Regions from separate parts of the Homo sapiens genome. Here regions 2, 3 and 4 are each linked to region 1. Evidence: promoter capture Hi-C in 16 types of primary human blood cells and fetal thymus (Javierre and others, 2016). All regions are on one chromosome and are shown on one strand. Each heading gives the region's core, a stretch centred on a gene start or on the middle of the fragment in contact. The rest is flanking DNA. Distances are from core to core; before and after follow the strand shown.

The links. The method cuts DNA at HindIII sites, captures the fragments that hold promoters and counts their contacts. A CHiCAGO score of 5 or more calls a contact.
Region 2: a fragment that was not itself captured here is called in contact with the fragment with the promoter of FAM222A-AS1 in region 1 in 1 of 17 cell types (erythroblasts); the score reaches 5.1 in erythroblasts.
Region 3: a contact is called between a fragment that was not itself captured here and the fragment with the promoter of FAM222A-AS1 in region 1, in 5 of 17 cell types (activated CD4 T cells, total CD4 T cells, naive CD8 T cells and 2 more). The highest score is 6.4, in activated CD4 T cells.
Region 4: a contact is called between a fragment that was not itself captured here and the fragment with the promoter of FAM222A-AS1 in region 1, in 5 of 17 cell types (M2 macrophages, endothelial precursors, M1 macrophages and 2 more). The highest score is 8.4, in M2 macrophages.

Annotation. Positions count from the first base shown.
Region 1 is chr12:109,771,169-109,775,237 of GRCh38, reverse strand. FAM222A-AS1 (FAM222A antisense RNA 1) reads left to right here and starts at 1,751. Exons shown (of 3, transcript NR_026662.2): 1 at 1,751-1,941. RefSeq lists an enhancer at 2,663-3,162. The HindIII fragment of the contact is 7,576 bases long and covers 1-4,069 here.
Region 2 is chr12:109,385,516-109,389,584 of GRCh38, reverse strand. It overlaps MYO1H (myosin IH), which reads right to left. Exons shown (of 32, transcript NM_001101421.4): 2 at 741-902. Among named protein-coding and RNA genes, the nearest start is that of LINC01486, 28 kb to the right of the region's middle. The HindIII fragment of the contact is 1,389 bases long and covers 1,380-2,768 here.
Region 3 is chr12:109,438,593-109,442,661 of GRCh38, reverse strand. MYO1H (myosin IH) reads right to left here. Exons shown (of 32, transcript NM_001101421.4): 23 at 4,042-4,069; 24 at 2,872-3,031; 25 at 1,835-1,918; 26 at 954-1,047; 27 at 390-445. Among named protein-coding and RNA genes, the nearest start is that of KCTD10, 37 kb to the left of the region's middle. The HindIII fragment of the contact is 826 bases long and covers 1,994-2,819 here.
Region 4 is chr12:109,499,474-109,503,542 of GRCh38, reverse strand. UBE3B (ubiquitin protein ligase E3B) reads right to left here. Exons shown (of 28, transcript NM_130466.4): 12 at 3,733-3,910; 13 at 2,009-2,172; 14 at 353-520. Among named protein-coding and RNA genes, the nearest start is that of UBE3B, 24 kb to the right of the region's middle. The HindIII fragment of the contact is 9,234 bases long and covers 1-4,069 here.

The sequences.
Region 1 (4,069 bases), core at 502-3,001:
AGGCAAGTTGCCTCCCCTCTCTGAACCTCAGTTTCCTCTCTTTCAAAATAAGAGTACTCACCCCTACTTCTCAAATGTGGCTTCTTCCTCTTCCCTGAGGGCCTTCCCCTTCTTTTGTGCCTAATTCAATATGAGGGACAGGACCAGTTAGGGCGTACTAGAAATGAGACCCAGCCACCCAGGTCAGGGTTGGGTTCCAGTCCTTGCTCTGCCACAAACTCATTATGAGTCCTTGCAGTGTAATTGGGGAAACTGAGGTCCAGAGAGGAGAAAGGACTTACCCAGTTTCCCCAATTGCAATACAAGAGGCAGGACTCAGCATTTCCTGAAGTCTTGTTTGTTCCATGGGGTGTAAATAGGTGGAAACAAAAACTTAGGTGGTCAAAAAAGTTAGGGAAATGCTGGGTTAAAGCTAAAAGGGGGCTGGGCGTGGTGGCTCATGCCTGTAATCCCAGCACTTTGGGAGGCCTTCAAGGCAGGCAGATCACTTGAGGTCAGGAGTTTGAGACCAGCCTGGTCAACATGGCAAAACCCCATCTCTACTAAAAATACAAAAATTAGCCAGGTGTAGTGGAGCATGCCTGTAATCCCAGCTAATCAGGAGGCTGAGGCAGGAGAACCACTTGAACCTGGAAGGCAGAGGTTACAGTGAGCCGAGACTGTGCCACTGCAAAGAAGTTAAAAGGGAATCTTGCCTGCAGGATCTGTTAGCATCTTTAATATGTTAATGCGATTTGTGTATCTCCAAGAGCCGGGATAGGCATCTGTTTCTCAAACTCTTTTGACTGGGAAACCCACTTTCCAAGGTGACTTGGAAGTCAGCTGCACTAGGCAAGGATGGGAATACTCCACCTTTGTTATATGTCTTTTACCTAATGGCTCTGTGCTACCCAGGGGATTTGACCACCTGTCTCCTAAGTTAAACCTCACATGGTACATACATTAAAATATTAGCCTCATTTTATTTTATGAGACGAGGTCTTGTTCTGTTGCCCAGGCTGTAGTGCAGTGGTGCGATCATGGCTCACTGCAGCCTTGACCTCCTGGGCTCAAGTGATCCTCCCACCTCAGCCTTCTGAGTATCTGGGACTACAGGCACACACTACACCCAGCTAATCTTAAAATTGTTTGTACAGATAGGGGTCTCGTGATACTGCCCAAGCTGGTCTTGAACTCCTGGGCTCAAGTGATCCTCCAGCCTTTGCTTCCCAAAGTGCTGGGATTACAGGTATGAGCCACAGCTCCCCGTTGGAGCCTCATTTTACAGTTGGGAAATAGATGACTCAGGAGTGATCACTTGCCTGAGGTCACACACACCTGCACACAGCCTCAGGATGGAACGAGTTCTGACCCTCAGACAACTACATCCCACAGCACTCAGAGGGGTCCTCTTACAGGACGAATCTGCCCTATCATCCTGACCACACATCACCTGATGCCACCTCACTCCTCCAGGTGCCACCACTTCCTTCAACAGATCTGGAAATTGAGGCTCAGAGAGGCACACAAGTCACCCAGGGTCACACGTGGAGTCAGTGGGATACTAAGTTCCGTTTTCTTGCCTCCTCCCCTCCCCCTGCCACTCGCTGGCGAGCTGGTGATGGTGGCAATTTAAACAGAAAACCTTTCGTCCCTTGCTCTCACCTATCGCGCTGGCTGGACTCCACCTTCTCCGGCCAACGTTGGGGGTGGGACGGGGTGTGGGCCCTTTAAGAGCGCCCGGGAGGGATGGGCAGGCGCAGTGGTGCTGGGCACACGTGGAGCTGCGCGTGGAGGAGTCCAGGCTGCAGCCGAGGGAGCTGAGTAGGGCAAAGTTAGGAGTCGCTGTTTGGATGGCAAGTTCAGAAGTTGGAACTTGTCTCAGTTTCCCCGCTCCAGAAATGGGGTTGTGATATAAAGACAGGGATATGAGTGAAGAAAACACAGAGCCACCCTGGAAAGGTGAGTGTCTACTAACATAGCTTCCTCTATCCAAATCTGCGCCTGAGCCCCCGTGGCCTTCTGGGGCAGCTCTGATCTCTCTGTAAGGTCACCTGTCTCTGACCTGGGGTGATCTTCTAATGGTCACTATGACAGGAAGTGATAGCCGAGGTTTTCTGCACACCAGGCTACCGTATTGGACAGCTCCGTGGTAAAGGGTGTGAGCCCAGGACAGCTAAGTAGAGAGAGAAGGATCCTAGTGTCAGAACAGAGACCTAGAGAAGGACTGCAGCTCCTGCCCGGGGCCTGGATGAGATGGTGGCTTCTCCTCTCTTTCTCCCTCACCCACCGGGATGTCTGGGCAGTTGGGGCTCTGGGATCCAAGGCTGTGCCTGGGTTCTGGAGCCAAATTGGCCACATTTGGCGGTTGACAGTTGTTTTCTATTCTCTGCAAAGGGTTGCAGCTGGGAACTAGGACTCAGAATCAGACAGGCCTGTGTTCTATCCCAGCCACTTCTCCATTCTTCATCCTCAGCTGTGTGACTTTGGGCAAAGTGATTGCCCTTCTGTGGGTCTCACTAACCTTGTCTGTAATGTGGGTGCATGCACCTCTGTTGCGCCGAGTGGTTGTGAGGCACAAGTAACGTTTAGCCCCGAGCCTGGTATCTGGTCTGCCTGTAGTTAAGTGTGGGATCTCAGTAATTGTAGCAGTGATAGCAATGCTTTCGTCACCTGTCCTCCCCCCATCAATGTGGTAATCAAAGGTGATTGATTGTATAAAGAAACCATGCTAGAATGGCCACCGGAGGGCACTTTGAGATCAGCCAGCCCAGTTCCTAGATGGGGAAACTGAGGCCCAAGGAGGCACAGGTAGTCAGGGCTAGAGCCCCAGCTGGGTTCCTGGGCCCAGACCCAGACTGTGCCATGCGCCCCTACATTGCCACGCACACAGACCCCACCCTGTGGAGGATGAGGAGGTTTTTCCAGGATAGCAGGTGCATCCTTTGCTCTGATATCCAAATATGAGGGACCGGGCATGGAGAGTGGCTCCAGCCTCTCCCGTTTCCCCTCTCCTGATGCCCCAGTGTGGGTACGCCTGGCAGTTGACCAAGGACATGGGGACCTGGGTGACCAAGTTGGTGCTTGGGTGGCCCCAGTGGTGACACCTGGGAACAGCTGAGACATAGGCCACCTCCCAGTGTAACACCTGGCCCTAGACCTTGGTTTCCTGCCCCACTCCCTCCCCGAGTGCTCACACTGTGCTTTTGTCTGCTTGAATTCCATCTCTGGTTCTGGTGCCGCCCCCCCTTGGGAAATGGATTGGTTAGGGTCACTCACGGTGGCATTATCAGGATTGGAACCCAAGTCTAGCTCACTGCAGAGGCTGGGCCTGCTGGGCTTGCCCCGTCCAGGCTCCCCCGGGTTCCGGCTGCACCCAGGCGGGCTTTGATTATGAATGAGGGTGGGGGTGGGGCTTGCAGCCAGAACACCTCGCTCCCTCTCAACATCCTCGTGGCCGTTGGTCAGGTTGTGTCCTCATCTGTAAAATGGGCCTGATTTTATCATCTACCTGATAGACTCAAGTGAGGTCAGAAAAGCACTCTGTCAATTGCAGTTTATACTAGTTATGTCCTATTTGTGATGATTCCCGGTTGCCTTCCATGGAGCTCTGCTTTTCCCAGCTCCTCACCCTGCAGGGCCCGGCTCCTGCTCCCCAGGGGCTGGGGTGATGTGCTTGGCTCATTGACCCAGTGCAGAAGGGCCTGGGTCCCGCCCTGGACACAGTCCCTTCCTCTCGGAGCCTCTGTTTCCTCTTCTGTGGACTGGGTAGCATGTGCTGCCCGACGTGGATGCCTGGTCTCAGGGAGGTGGACCACCCACCACAGAGTCGAATCCAAGGCGTCCCCTCTGTCCCCATCTCTGCCCTGGACTTCACCATTGCCAGCCACCCTGGCAGGGCTCTGTGAATGGGAGGGGAGGCCTGCCTTAGCCGGAAGTTCTCCAGTGCCTCCGGCCCTGATATTGGGCTAGGAGGCTGGGAGAGAAGAGCTGGGAGGAGGCGAAGGCAGGAACGGGACACAGGGAAGAGTCCATGCTGTGAGGTTTGAACCCTAGCCTCCCACAGATTTGCTGTGTGACCTCGCACAGA
Region 2 (4,069 bases), core at 825-3,324, 390 kb after region 1:
AGAGTTTGGTAAGTGCTGCATTCTCGACCCTTGACCATTCGTGGGGTGTGGTGGACAGCTCTTATTTTTGCCTGCTTGGTATCTCTGCCCCTTTCTCCCAACAGAGTCCTTTGGGGAACCCTCTTCCCCAGCTCTCTGCCTATACCGTCCAGGGCTCCAACTCCACCCCTCACCTTCAGGGGCAGGCCTGGTAAGAGCCTGGCCAATCAGAATAGTCTTCATTTCTAGCCATGGGATTGGTTCAGAGACAGGCACATGACCGAAAGTGGGCCAATCAGAGCTGATCAATGTCAACTTGGGCCATTTACTAGAGCTTATCCCCAGAGTATTGGCTCGCTTCTCTGCAGCAACCCTGAGCTGATAAAATGACAGCCTGGATCTGAGGGCAGCCATCTTGCTGCCATGCACTTGAGAAAGAAATGGATGCCTAAGAAAGCAGAGCAGAGATTGAGAAGGAGTTGCCAGACATTGTCTGAAACCCTAGATCTAGTCCCGGGACCTACAGTAACAGACATGGACAGATTCCTTTTAGTGACTTAGGCTGGTGTAAGTTGGGTCTCTGTCACGGGCAGCCATAAACGTCTTAGCACAAAGGATCGAAGTGCATCTAAGAGTGGCGCCTCAGTATCTCCCTTTAATGTCTAACCTAATAGAGTGCTATTATTCACACTCATCAAAGTCGTGAAGGCAAGAAGGGAACAACCACCCTAGAAAAACAGCTGAGAAGTGGGTCACGTTACGTATATGAGGTTCTCGCTGAAACGCTTGCGGAGGTTGTCGACAAAGGCAGATTCGCTGGTGTACGCGTCCAATAGCACAAAATCCTGAACCCCGACCTTGTCCCGGGCAGTCAGCGCCCCTTCCATGTGCAGACGGATGTGTTTCCTCCTCACGTCTTCTTTCTACGGGAAATAGAACATTCTTCAGCAGCTCATCTATTTGGTAATATCTATTACACGTCTAATGCATGGAAATAACAAGATGCTAAACCCTGGGATAGTAGAGAGCCAGCATTAAATTATGCCGTCTTCACTTAGAGTTTACAATATGGTTGGGGATACAAGATCATAATCATAAAAAATAGGAATAGCAGCAGCTGATAGGAACCAAGTATTTACTGCTAGGTACTATTCTAAACACTTGACTTATACTGTTTCATTTGATCTTCATTCTGACCCTATGAAATACTATTATGATGCCCATTCTACAGATGAGAAAACTGAGGCATAGGAATGTCATAAGCCACGCCCAAAATCTGCCAAAAGACGCAGCCAGAAAATGAACCTAGACAACATACCCAGACTTGCTTTCCTGACAACCATGGACTCAATAAATGTTTTTTTTAAATTAATGTTTCCTTTATGTTGATTAGTCAAGCTTGAATTTTTTCTTTTTTTAAAATTAATTTTTCTTTATTTCAATAAGTGTTAATTGTGTAAACTCACTTTGTAATTCTCACATGGGTGGTGAGGAGTTTGGGCCAGAAAGGGAAATTCTTGCTACAGAGGAATATTTAAGGAAGGACAAACTTGGAGTGTTCCTCTCCAAGGATGGGCTTCAGATGTCACTGGAGAAGGTGTGGCTACAGCCCATTGGATGGCAAAGAATCTCACCAGGATACCAGGGCCAGAGCTGGTTCGGTCACTGGGCAGGCACCAGGCATGACCTTCCTGAGCACCCGCGCTGCTGGATGGGAGACCATGGAGGGGGCCAAGGAAATCAACCTTCCAGGGCTCAGGCAAGCTGCGGCCAGAGGGCAGGTGTGCGTTGGGAGAGGGAACAGGAGTAGGTATGAAGCCTGGAGTGTGTAATGTCTGCATCAGGAGGGCTGTGACAAAGTGGTCACCAGGCCCTTGGCCAGAGCTGTGAGGTCACTGAGAGACTATGTGCTCTGGGCACACGGTTAGTGTGTGTCCCCCCCACATACCACGTGCAGCAGAATGTACAGTCTGAAAACAAGAAAAAGCAAAACATAGCAAAGGACATCAGGAAGAGAAGCGGCCTGCCTTTGCAATGTCCCTCCAGTGCCCTCTAGTGACAAAAATGACATTGTGTTCACTTTAAGGAGAAATGCCTAAAGCGTGCAGTTGGTTATTGCTCAGCAGGTAATGAAGGGTGAATTTGGATCTGAGAGGCAATAAATTGACAACTGGTACATATGGATATGCAAAGGTCCTAGCATAGCCAAATTAACCTTGCAAAAGAAAAACAAAGCTAGAATAAGACTGTGTTTAATAAGACTGCGTCTCAATTGATTTTCAGTAGAGGTCCCAAAACAATTCAGCACAGAAATGGAAAACATTTCCATCCAATGGTGCAGGAACAACTAGATATTTATAAAGAAAAAAAATTGCAGTTGTGTGTGGTGGCTCACAGCTGTGATCCCAGCACACTGGGATGCTGAGGCAGGAGGATTGTCTAAAGCCAGGAGTTGGAGACCAGCCTGGGCAACACAGGGAGATTCCCATCTCTACTTAAAAATATATAAATAGAAAAAGAAAGTAAAAATGCATTTCAGTCCCTATATTACATTACACTACACTACACACACACACACACACACACACACACACACACACACACACACACGAACTTGAGATGCATCTTAGACCTAAATGCAAATTTAAAATCTATATAAAGCTACTGGAAGTAAACAAGGGGACCATCTTTGTAACCAGGGGAAGGCAAAGTTTTCTTAGATGAGAGCCAGGAAGAAATAATAATAAAAGACACAAAATAAGAAATCAGACTTCACCAAATATAAAGCTTCTCATTAGAAGACACTGTTAAGAAAATAGGCAAGTCACAGAACAGCAGAAAATATTCCTAAATTATACAGACGCAAAGAATTTGTATCCAGAATAAAAGACACCTACAGTCCAATAATAAAAAGACAAACCCAATGAAAATTTGGCAAAAGACTTGAATAGACACTTCACAAAGGAAGATAGACAAATTGGCAATACACACATAGAAAAATGGTCAACATTGTTAGTCATCAGGGAAACACAAATTAAAACCACAATGAGATACCACCACAATAGTTAAAATTAAAAACACTGACAACACCAAATACTGGTGAGGATGCGGAGCAGACAGAATTCTCTCGCACTTCTGGTAGGAATGCAAAGAGAATCACTTTGGGAAAAAGATCTGGCAGTTTCTAATGAAGTTAACCATGCCTCTATTCTTTGATCCAGCGATTCCACTCCTAAGTATTTACACAAGAGAAATGTAAACATATGTCTACAAAAAGACTTGAACATGAAGTTCAACTCATGCTCAACTTTATTCAGAACGGCCCCTAACTGGAAACAATCCAAATCCCCATCAACTGGAGAATGGCTGTGGCCCATCTGTACAATAGAAGGAGGACAGCAATAAAAGAGAAATAACGGGTACACGCAAGAGCATGGATGACTCTCACAGACATTATGCTGAGTGAAAGAGCCCAGACACAAAAGAGTCGTACTGTAGGATTCCATTGATATGGCACACTGGGACAAGCAAAACTAATCCACAGTGAAAAATCAGAACAATTGTTGCCTAGTTGAGGAGTTGTCAGGCAAATGACATTTTTGGAGTGATGAAAACATTCCATATCATGATAGGGCTGTGGGTTACATGAGTATATCTATCGGTCAAGATAAACTGTTAAAATTGTGTGCATTTCACTATATGTAAATTTTATTTTTGAAAAACAACCGTAAAAAATAAGTGGGGAAGAGGTAGGGATTGGCTGGAGGTATGAATATAAACGGAATGGCAGAATGTTAATTGTTAAAGCTAGGTGGTGGGTAGAGGGGGATTTATGATACTATTCTGTTTACTTTGCATAAATTTGAAGTTTTCCATAAAAAAAGTTTTAAAAAACAGAATGGCCACCAGATGTCTCCCTACACTAGCCAAATGGAGCTAGAAGAGCCTTAATCACTAGCAACCTAACATTCAAAACAATGCATTTAGATCAAACAATATTTTAGTGATTTCAGGCTGGGCGTGGTAGGCTCGTGTTTGTAATCCTGGCACTTTGGGAGGCCAAGGCAGGCGGATCACTTGAGCCCAGGAG
Region 3 (4,069 bases), core at 1,157-3,656, 330 kb after region 1:
GGCACCAAGAGCTTAAGTGACCTGCCCAGGATCTCACGGCTGCTACGTTCAAAGCAAGTGTCAGTGCCCAGGCACTATGCCACACTGCCTCTCACCAATAAGGGGGTGTTTCGTGATTAAGTTCATGGCTACACTTCATTCAATTTTGTAGGAAAGCAAACCAAGACAGTTTCTAGGGTGACGGAGGTGTCATGAGAACAGCAGCCATTATCTAATCATCATTTGTTCCCCATCATCTTAGTTAATACCCAAAGCATCACAGTTGAGAGCCCCAGCTGCCCAGCTGCACCCCTGCATTTAAATAGTGCGCCCTTTATGGAGAAAGGGGACCCTGCTCTTAGACTCGATGAGGGAATCCTGTTTGAGACTGAGGACACACATCGCCTTACCTGGATTTTCTCATGGCTAATTAGCTGAAGCACTTTCGGATTAATGTCTCCTTCATCTAGAGAGGGAACCAGAAGGCCATGAATCATCACTAAAGTACCAATCCTGTGGAAAAGTCATTGGTATCTGCTAGTTTTGTTATGCATCTCTGTGCTAAGATCTCAGGTGGGGAAATAGCCATCAGGAAATGCTGCAGAGTTGAGCATCTGCCTTTGACTTATTTTTTTGGAGACAGAGTCTCGCTCTGTCTCCCAGGCTGGAGTGCAGTGGCATGATCTCGGCTCACTGCGTCCTCCGCCTCCTGGGTTCAAGCCATTCTCCTGCCTCTGCCTCCCGAGTAGTTGGGACTACAGGTGGACACCACCACGCCCTGCTAATATTTTGTATTTTAGTTGAGATGGGGTTTCGCCATGTTGGCCAGGCTGGTCTCGAACTCCTGAGCTCAGGCAATCCGCCCACCTCGGCCTCCCAAAGTGCTGAGATTATGGGCATGAGCCACCGCACCCCACCCTTTAACTCCTTTTAGAATTGGAAAGCCAAGTACATAGGCTGGAAAATGTACTTACCTATCCGACTGTTGACAAAGGGTTGATTTAAACTTTCTGTGTAGCCGTCTTTCCTTCCCCTGAAGATTTCACTTGTAACTACCTTTTGCTGCATCTGGTAATACACAATTGAAAGTATAAAAATGGTAGCCACAGGCTTCTTTGGGATAGAAGAGCTCTAGACCCATTGAGGTCACATCCTTTGCTGGATAAACTGTGGGAGCCTTGTTACCCTGGAGCATACAAGTCAGAACACCTTCCTGGCTTTGGCCAAAATGCCCTGAAAGTCATATTGGTAGAGACTGGGTTGACGTTTCTGCTCGTTCCCTTACTACCTTCCTGAAAGTGGATTTTCCAGAGTTCCAAGAGCAGTTTCTTGTAGATCAGGGATTGGGAAACCACAGCCTGCAGGCCAAACTCAGCCTGCTGTCCCTTTTTGTAAGTAACATTCTATTGGGACAGAGCCATGCCATTCATGCACACATTGTCCATGGCTGCTTTCTCACTGTAGCAGCAGAGTTGAGTAATTCCAACAGAGAAAGGCCACAAACCCTGAAATAGTTACTCTTCTAGCCCTTTACACAAAAGACCCGCAGGTTAGCACGGTGAAAAACAGATTTCCAGCAGAAAGGGGTCTACATTCTCTGCTCCGGTGGATGGATGGCAGGAGCCGTTGTGATTGTGTTCCCATGGTAACAAACGGAGCCATGCTGATTACAGTAACAGCTGGCATTCATCCAGGGCTCTCTGCAGGTCTACCTGCAATTATCTTGAACATTTCAAAGCATGGGACTAGCATGACCCCCGCTTATAGGTGAAATGGTGGATGAGGAGGACTGACACTCAGGACCCACTCTTACACCCACCCCCACCACCGGCCACCGCAGACATCATGTCCCTACCATTGCTTTCCGCTCAGCTGTGATCCCGCGGCAGTACTTCTGCACCAGGTTCCTCACGCACATTTTCCTGAGCAGATCTGATGCCTGTGTGGAGAACACACTTCTTTCCACTTGCCTCACTCACTCCCTGTCTGGGGCTGTGGCGATCAAAATGAAGCTTTAAAAAAACACTGCTGAATTCAGTTTGATTTCAAGCACAGTGTTAATATTTTATATTTTATAGTCACAGCAGCTAACCTGATCCTCTCCCAACTTTTTGCTGTTGCTTAACGAATGATTCTCAAACTTGAATATGTTTATGACTCACCTGCAGAACTGGCTATAATGAGATTCCTGGAGATTCTGACTCAGTGGGTCCAAAGTGGAGCCCGGGACTCTTACAACAGCCCCGCCTCTAAGTTCCAGACACAGAGGGTCCTCAGATCATCTCTTGAGGGATGCTATTCTAGGAAGGCTACGTCAGGAATAGAAATGATTCGAAAGTACTCTGTCGGCTGGGCACGGTGACTCGCACCTGTAATCCCAGCACTTTGGGAGGCTGAGGCGGACAGATCATTTGAGGTCAGGAGTTCGAGACTAACCTGGCCAACATGGCAAAACTCCGTCTCTACTAAAAATACAAAAATTAGCCAGGCATGGTGGCGGGCGCCTGTAATCTCAGTTATTCAGGGGGGCTGACACACCAGAATCACTTGAGCCTAGGAGGCGGAGGTTGCAGTGAGCCAAGATCGCGCCACTGCACTCTAGCCTGGGTGACAGAGCAAGACTCCATCTCAAAAAAAAAAAAAAAGTGCTCTGTTTAAACAACCTCCAGTGGCTTTATAATGCTACTAAGGACACTCCAGTGGCTTTATAATGCTACTAAGGACATCGCAAATTCTGAGGAGTTCAATTTCTTGTGCAGCATCCTTGGGAAGAAGGGCTTTGCCAGGGCAGCCCTTTCAAGCCAAAGGGAGGCAGCACAAAGACATGCAAGAGTTAAGCTTCGTCAGTGCCCGTGCTACTTACAACACTGGAAATCCCAGATTAGTCCTTACATTTTCCAAGATGCCAGGAGGCCTCAGCCAGCTCTTGTCCAGGACAGTCTTTGGAAGGTGATACCGGAGATTCAAGATGTAATTCTTCCGCACAAACACGATAAATTCCTCGTTGTCAGGACAGAGGGGTTTGTTGCGACTGATGAATCCTTTAATGAACCTAAAAAGGAAAATGTTTTCTTACTTTTCTGGACCATTTCTTCACCGAGATTTACATTCTCTTCCCCCTTCTTTGATTCAGAGGCGGCCAAAGTGGTAGAGGCTGTGGAGATGACCACATAGGCCAGAGGCCAAATCTGCCCCACATATATGTTCGATTTCACCCACACGGCCTTTTGTTTTGTTTTGAGGAGCTTTAATTAGCTGCCAATTTTAAAAAGTTAGGAAGCAGGGCATAAAAGCCAGATTTCAAGGCTGGGCATGGTGGCTCATGCCTGTAATCCCAGCATTTTGGCAGGCTGAGGCAGGCGGATCATTTGAGGTCAAGAATTCGAGACTAGCCTGACCAACATGGTGAAACCCTGTCTCTCTACTAAAAATACAAAAAATTTAGCCGGGTGTGGTGGTGTGTGCCTGTAATCTCAGCTACTTGGAAGGCTGAGGCAGGAGAATCGCTTGAACCCAGAAGGCGGAGGTTGCAGTGAGCCGAGATCACACCATTGTACTCCAGCCTGGGCGACAGAGTGAGACTCCATCTCAAACAAAAAAAACAAACAACAACAACAAAACCCCAAAAGCCAGATTTCAGCGTTCCTTGAAAATTCAAGCCATCTGGCTACATTTCCCCACAGCAGCAGTAAACTGGAATGGGCTAGTTACCGCCCCACCTTGAGGTAGACTGAGCGTTCCAGTTTGCTGGTCTCCACCATGCCCTGTTGTCTTATCCCAGCCCATGAGACTCACTCACTTTACCTGCCTGGCATCAGAAGGCATTTGACTTTGTGACTTTTGAGCCAGGCTAAGAGAAATTCCAAATACATTGAGTTGTGATCACCATCAAATTCAGCTCAGAGCAAAGGGATGGACCTGAATTCCTAATGGCATTCTGAAGGGAGTTTTTCCTTTCTGCACAAATCAAAAAATCACAAAGAACTCATCTACCTCCATGACCATCCCTGCAGGGTACCAGCATTTAGTGACCTGTCCTCTCTGTTGTACCTGAGAACTTACTTTCTGATAATCCGCACGGCCCACTTTC
Region 4 (4,069 bases), core at 703-3,202, 270 kb after region 1:
GTTGACTGTTTTTGGATTATGGAATTAAAAGTGGTTTTCTTTTTCCTTTTTTTTTTGCAACCCTATCTTTTTTGCTTCTTTACTCAGAAAACAGAAACTTTTTAAAAGTAAATTCTACTTCATAATTAAAGTAAGAGTCACAAAACAGGAATGAGATGCAAGTGCTTATGATTGAGGTGAGCATGAGCAATGTAACTGAGGTGGACTAATCTCTAAGAGGAACAGCTCAAAAATGCCCTCCTTCAGAATCTATTTTCAGAGTCAAAGAAGCCAGAAAAAAACATCGACTTTTGCTAAGACAAACTGTCTGCCAAATGTGAGAGGTGAAGAAGATGCCCTGGGGACTGCGAACCTGTGAGTATCTGCAGCCGAATCTGTGTGAGAGTTGTCAGCGAGGTCTGGTAGAGGACACAGATGTTGCAAACCTTCTGGACTTCTGCAGAGTCGACCCGTTTACCCCCGACAGGCCTGAGAATATTCCGGACTGATGCCGACTTTTGAAAAGCACGCTTTAGGAGACCTGGCATGGAGAAAAGAAGACATGTGAGCAGCAGCTCAGCCAGCTGCCAAATCCCACCCTGGAAAAGGAAGAGCATTTCAGTAAAGCTCTAAATGCACAGCCAGGCCAGACAGTGGGGCAACTCACTCAATTCAAGGCATTTCTTTGGGATAAATTAGAAAAACATTAACAACAGGTTTTTAGGTACAACCCAAAGATCTCTTCAGAATACCCAAATATTTCTCAGAATAAGCCAGGCATATTCAAATCTTACATGGGATTCTTATACTGGAAATCACCAAATTTCAAAACCCACAATGGTAAAAATTCAGAGGACTATATTAGGGAAAGAGGGGCAAAGGCAGGGGCCCTGGCTACATCTCTATTTTCTGTGCCTTTAGAGGGAAGTAAGGCGTGACAACCTCTAGTTCTGACACCTGGTTTTGAATGATATTCTACCTTTGTTTTCAACCTTCCCATTGATATCCTGCTGGAGTCACATTTGCTGAGCCCACGCTTACTGCTAGCTATGAGACAGAGTTTTGCAACACACTCAGTAGAAGAACAGACACCCTGAACCTGAAAACCCACCACAGGCAGGTAACTCTGTCAAATTATGCATTAGTGGCCTTTCCATAACTTTTAATAAGAGCGTGCAACGAGAACCTTCCCATGGAACCCATTACTGACCCTGCGATAGGAAAGCCACTGAAGCGCTAGCCCCGCCTGTGGTTCAGTGAGTGGCTCCTTTATAAGGAGTCCCACATGGGAGATTTATTTTCTTAAGAACTCAGAAAAGCTCTACTTCTAAGAAATTAGAAGAAAGCATCCACAGACCCCTTTTCATGTCGGTTTCTGAAACATTTCATGTTGGTTCACAGCCAAACTGAAGTTCACAGGTAGCCACAGTGGCCCTAATGTAACATATGTGTGTGGACATGCTTTTATGACCCAATCTTGATTGTGTTCACCTATTTCTATTTCCCCAATCCTTGTTTTCTATTCTTATGGATTTTTTGTTTTGCTATATATGAACTTAGTGACCTAACAAGCCTCAAAATTGTTGTGGAACAAGCTGGAGGCCAGGTATGGTGGCTCATATATGTCACCCCAGCACTTTGGGAGGCTGAGGTAGGAGGATCACTTGAGGTCAGGAATTGGAAACAAACCTGGGCAATAAGGTAAGGCCCCCATCTCTACAAAAATTAAAAAAAAAAAAAAATTAGCCAGGCATGGCAGTACACGCCTGTAGTCCCAGCTATTATACTTGGGAGGCTGACGTGGGAGGATCACCTGAGCCTAGGAGTTAGAGGCTAGTAAGCTATGATCATGCCACTGCACTGTAGCCTGGGCAATACAGTGAGACTCTGTCTCTAACAACAAGAACGATAACAACAAAAACAAAGTTAGAGCATCCCACAAACACAGCGGAACATCCATATAGGAAGAAACAGGAGCTGTACTTCAGCCAAGTGGAGCTACAGGGTTGGGCCTGCTCCCGTCACTCACTCTTCACTGGGAGCACATTCTGAGGGGATGCTGGCTGTGCGTGGGCTGGCTCCTGGCTCTCCAGTAGCTTCTTGCTCAGGATGTCACAGAAGAAGATCCGGATCAGAGGCACCCCCCACAAGAACTGCAGCTGTTTGGTGATCAAGTGCATTGACTCGTTAAGGCTAGGAGAGAGCAGAGGAGACCTGGTCTGTCAGTTCCATCTGATGCAGGGCCAGGGCCAGCCCACACAGTTCCTAATGGCCTTCCACTCGGAGCTGTAGCTAGGACCTGGCACTCAACATGGCAAAGAAGATTACAAAAATAAAAAGTGGAACTAACAAATCATTGCTGAGGGGCTGGTACGTCAAGGGCATTGACTCTTCATCTTGTCTGCTTTCCCCAGGTCCCCAAGCTCCATGAGTCACACTCTTCTCGAAGACACTTGCTACCACCCAGGTGACAAAAACAATCTTGTACCCACTGCACTGCCTCCCTCCTCATAGCTGGCTTGCAGGTGGTGGGGGGCCAAATCTAGATGACTCAGCAGCCTCCTCAGTGTTTCCTTGCATTCCAGGGGTTCCTTGCCTGACTCCACACTGCACTCAGCATCCCTCAACTTCCTGGAATCTGCTGTCACCTTCCTGCTCAAGAAGGTGAGGTGAGACTCCTAGTGGTTCCCACATTGATCATCATATTGTTAATAGCCGCCACCCCTGAGTACGGCCAGGCCTGCCTGCTGGTAGGTGCTTCACATGCATTATCTCATTCAATCTTTCTAGAAAGCCCTATCAAAGGGAGGGTGAAAATTATCCCCAGGTTTCAGATGAGGAAAGCAAGGCAAAGCAAGTCGTCCAAGTCCCTCCAAGAAGAGGAAGTGGAGCGGAGAGCAGGCTGTCTGCGGAGGTGCTGCTCTCCTTCACTTACCTCCCACAGCCTCCTGACTCTCAGCACCTCCGCCCCATCCTCCTCAGGCTGAGGTGTCACGCTGGGGCAGGCTGTTCCCTAGCAATGAGTCTTTTTAACTAGATAGGACCCAGGGATGTCACTCAGGTACAACAAAAGAAAAATTTGGGGATTTCCTCCCCAGGCCTTTAGTTTTCTGCTGCAAGGGTAACTGCCAGGGACCCCATGCCTCGAGCAGATATGTGAACAAGAAAACAGCTGGGGCAGCAGAGCTGGTTCCTCTCCAGAAACCACTTTATCTCAGCTCAGGTAGATATTTCAAATTCATGAAGCTGCACCTTACTTGATCTCCCTTCTTCTAGTCTAGTGTTTCTCATGTTTTTAAGTTCATAATTACACTTTTAAAAATTTATATTCCACCTCTTGAAAAGGATTTTGGGTGATTTCTATTCCCTTTGAATCATTTGTCTTGTTTTAGCATCTCCAAAATATGGCAGTCTAGTCAAAAAGTGACAGTGAAGAAGAAAAAACATTGATAAGGTCCATAGCTGAATGGAAGGAACAAAATACAAAATAATAGGATTTCAATTTTGTAAAAAAGGATCAGTATTTCTAGATAGGAAAACTGACAGGATGTTCACTCAAGTTATCTTTGGTTTACAGGATAATGGGCTGGTTTTTATCCTCTTTTGTTCTTACTCACAATTTATTAATATATAATGAATACATATTATTTTTATAATAAGAAACAAAACACCACAAGCTGGAAGAAAGAAAGAAGGAAGAAGAAGATGGTGGGAGAGAGGCAGGAAAGACAGTGATTTGCATCTGGGACTCACCCATAATCCACAGATTGGGAGAACCAGCCAAGGACAGGATGCCAGTGGGTCAGGTTGGACTTCTTCTGAGACACATACTTCCGACAGTAGCACAGCGTCTGGGTGAGCAAACTCACGAACCCATCTGTCTCCTCCTCTAACACTCTGGGGCTGAGGGAGCCCAAGTGTAGGAGGTTGCCTACAGAGAGAGAAGGCTGAGTGTGATGGGCCCAGACAAACATTTTGGTGCCTCCCGGCCCTGCTCCCTGCCTGTGGCTCAGGCGGCCACATCCCATGTGCAGCAAGAAATTTCCACATAAGGGGCACCTGTCAATGCCGGAGGCTGCTGTGTGGTGCA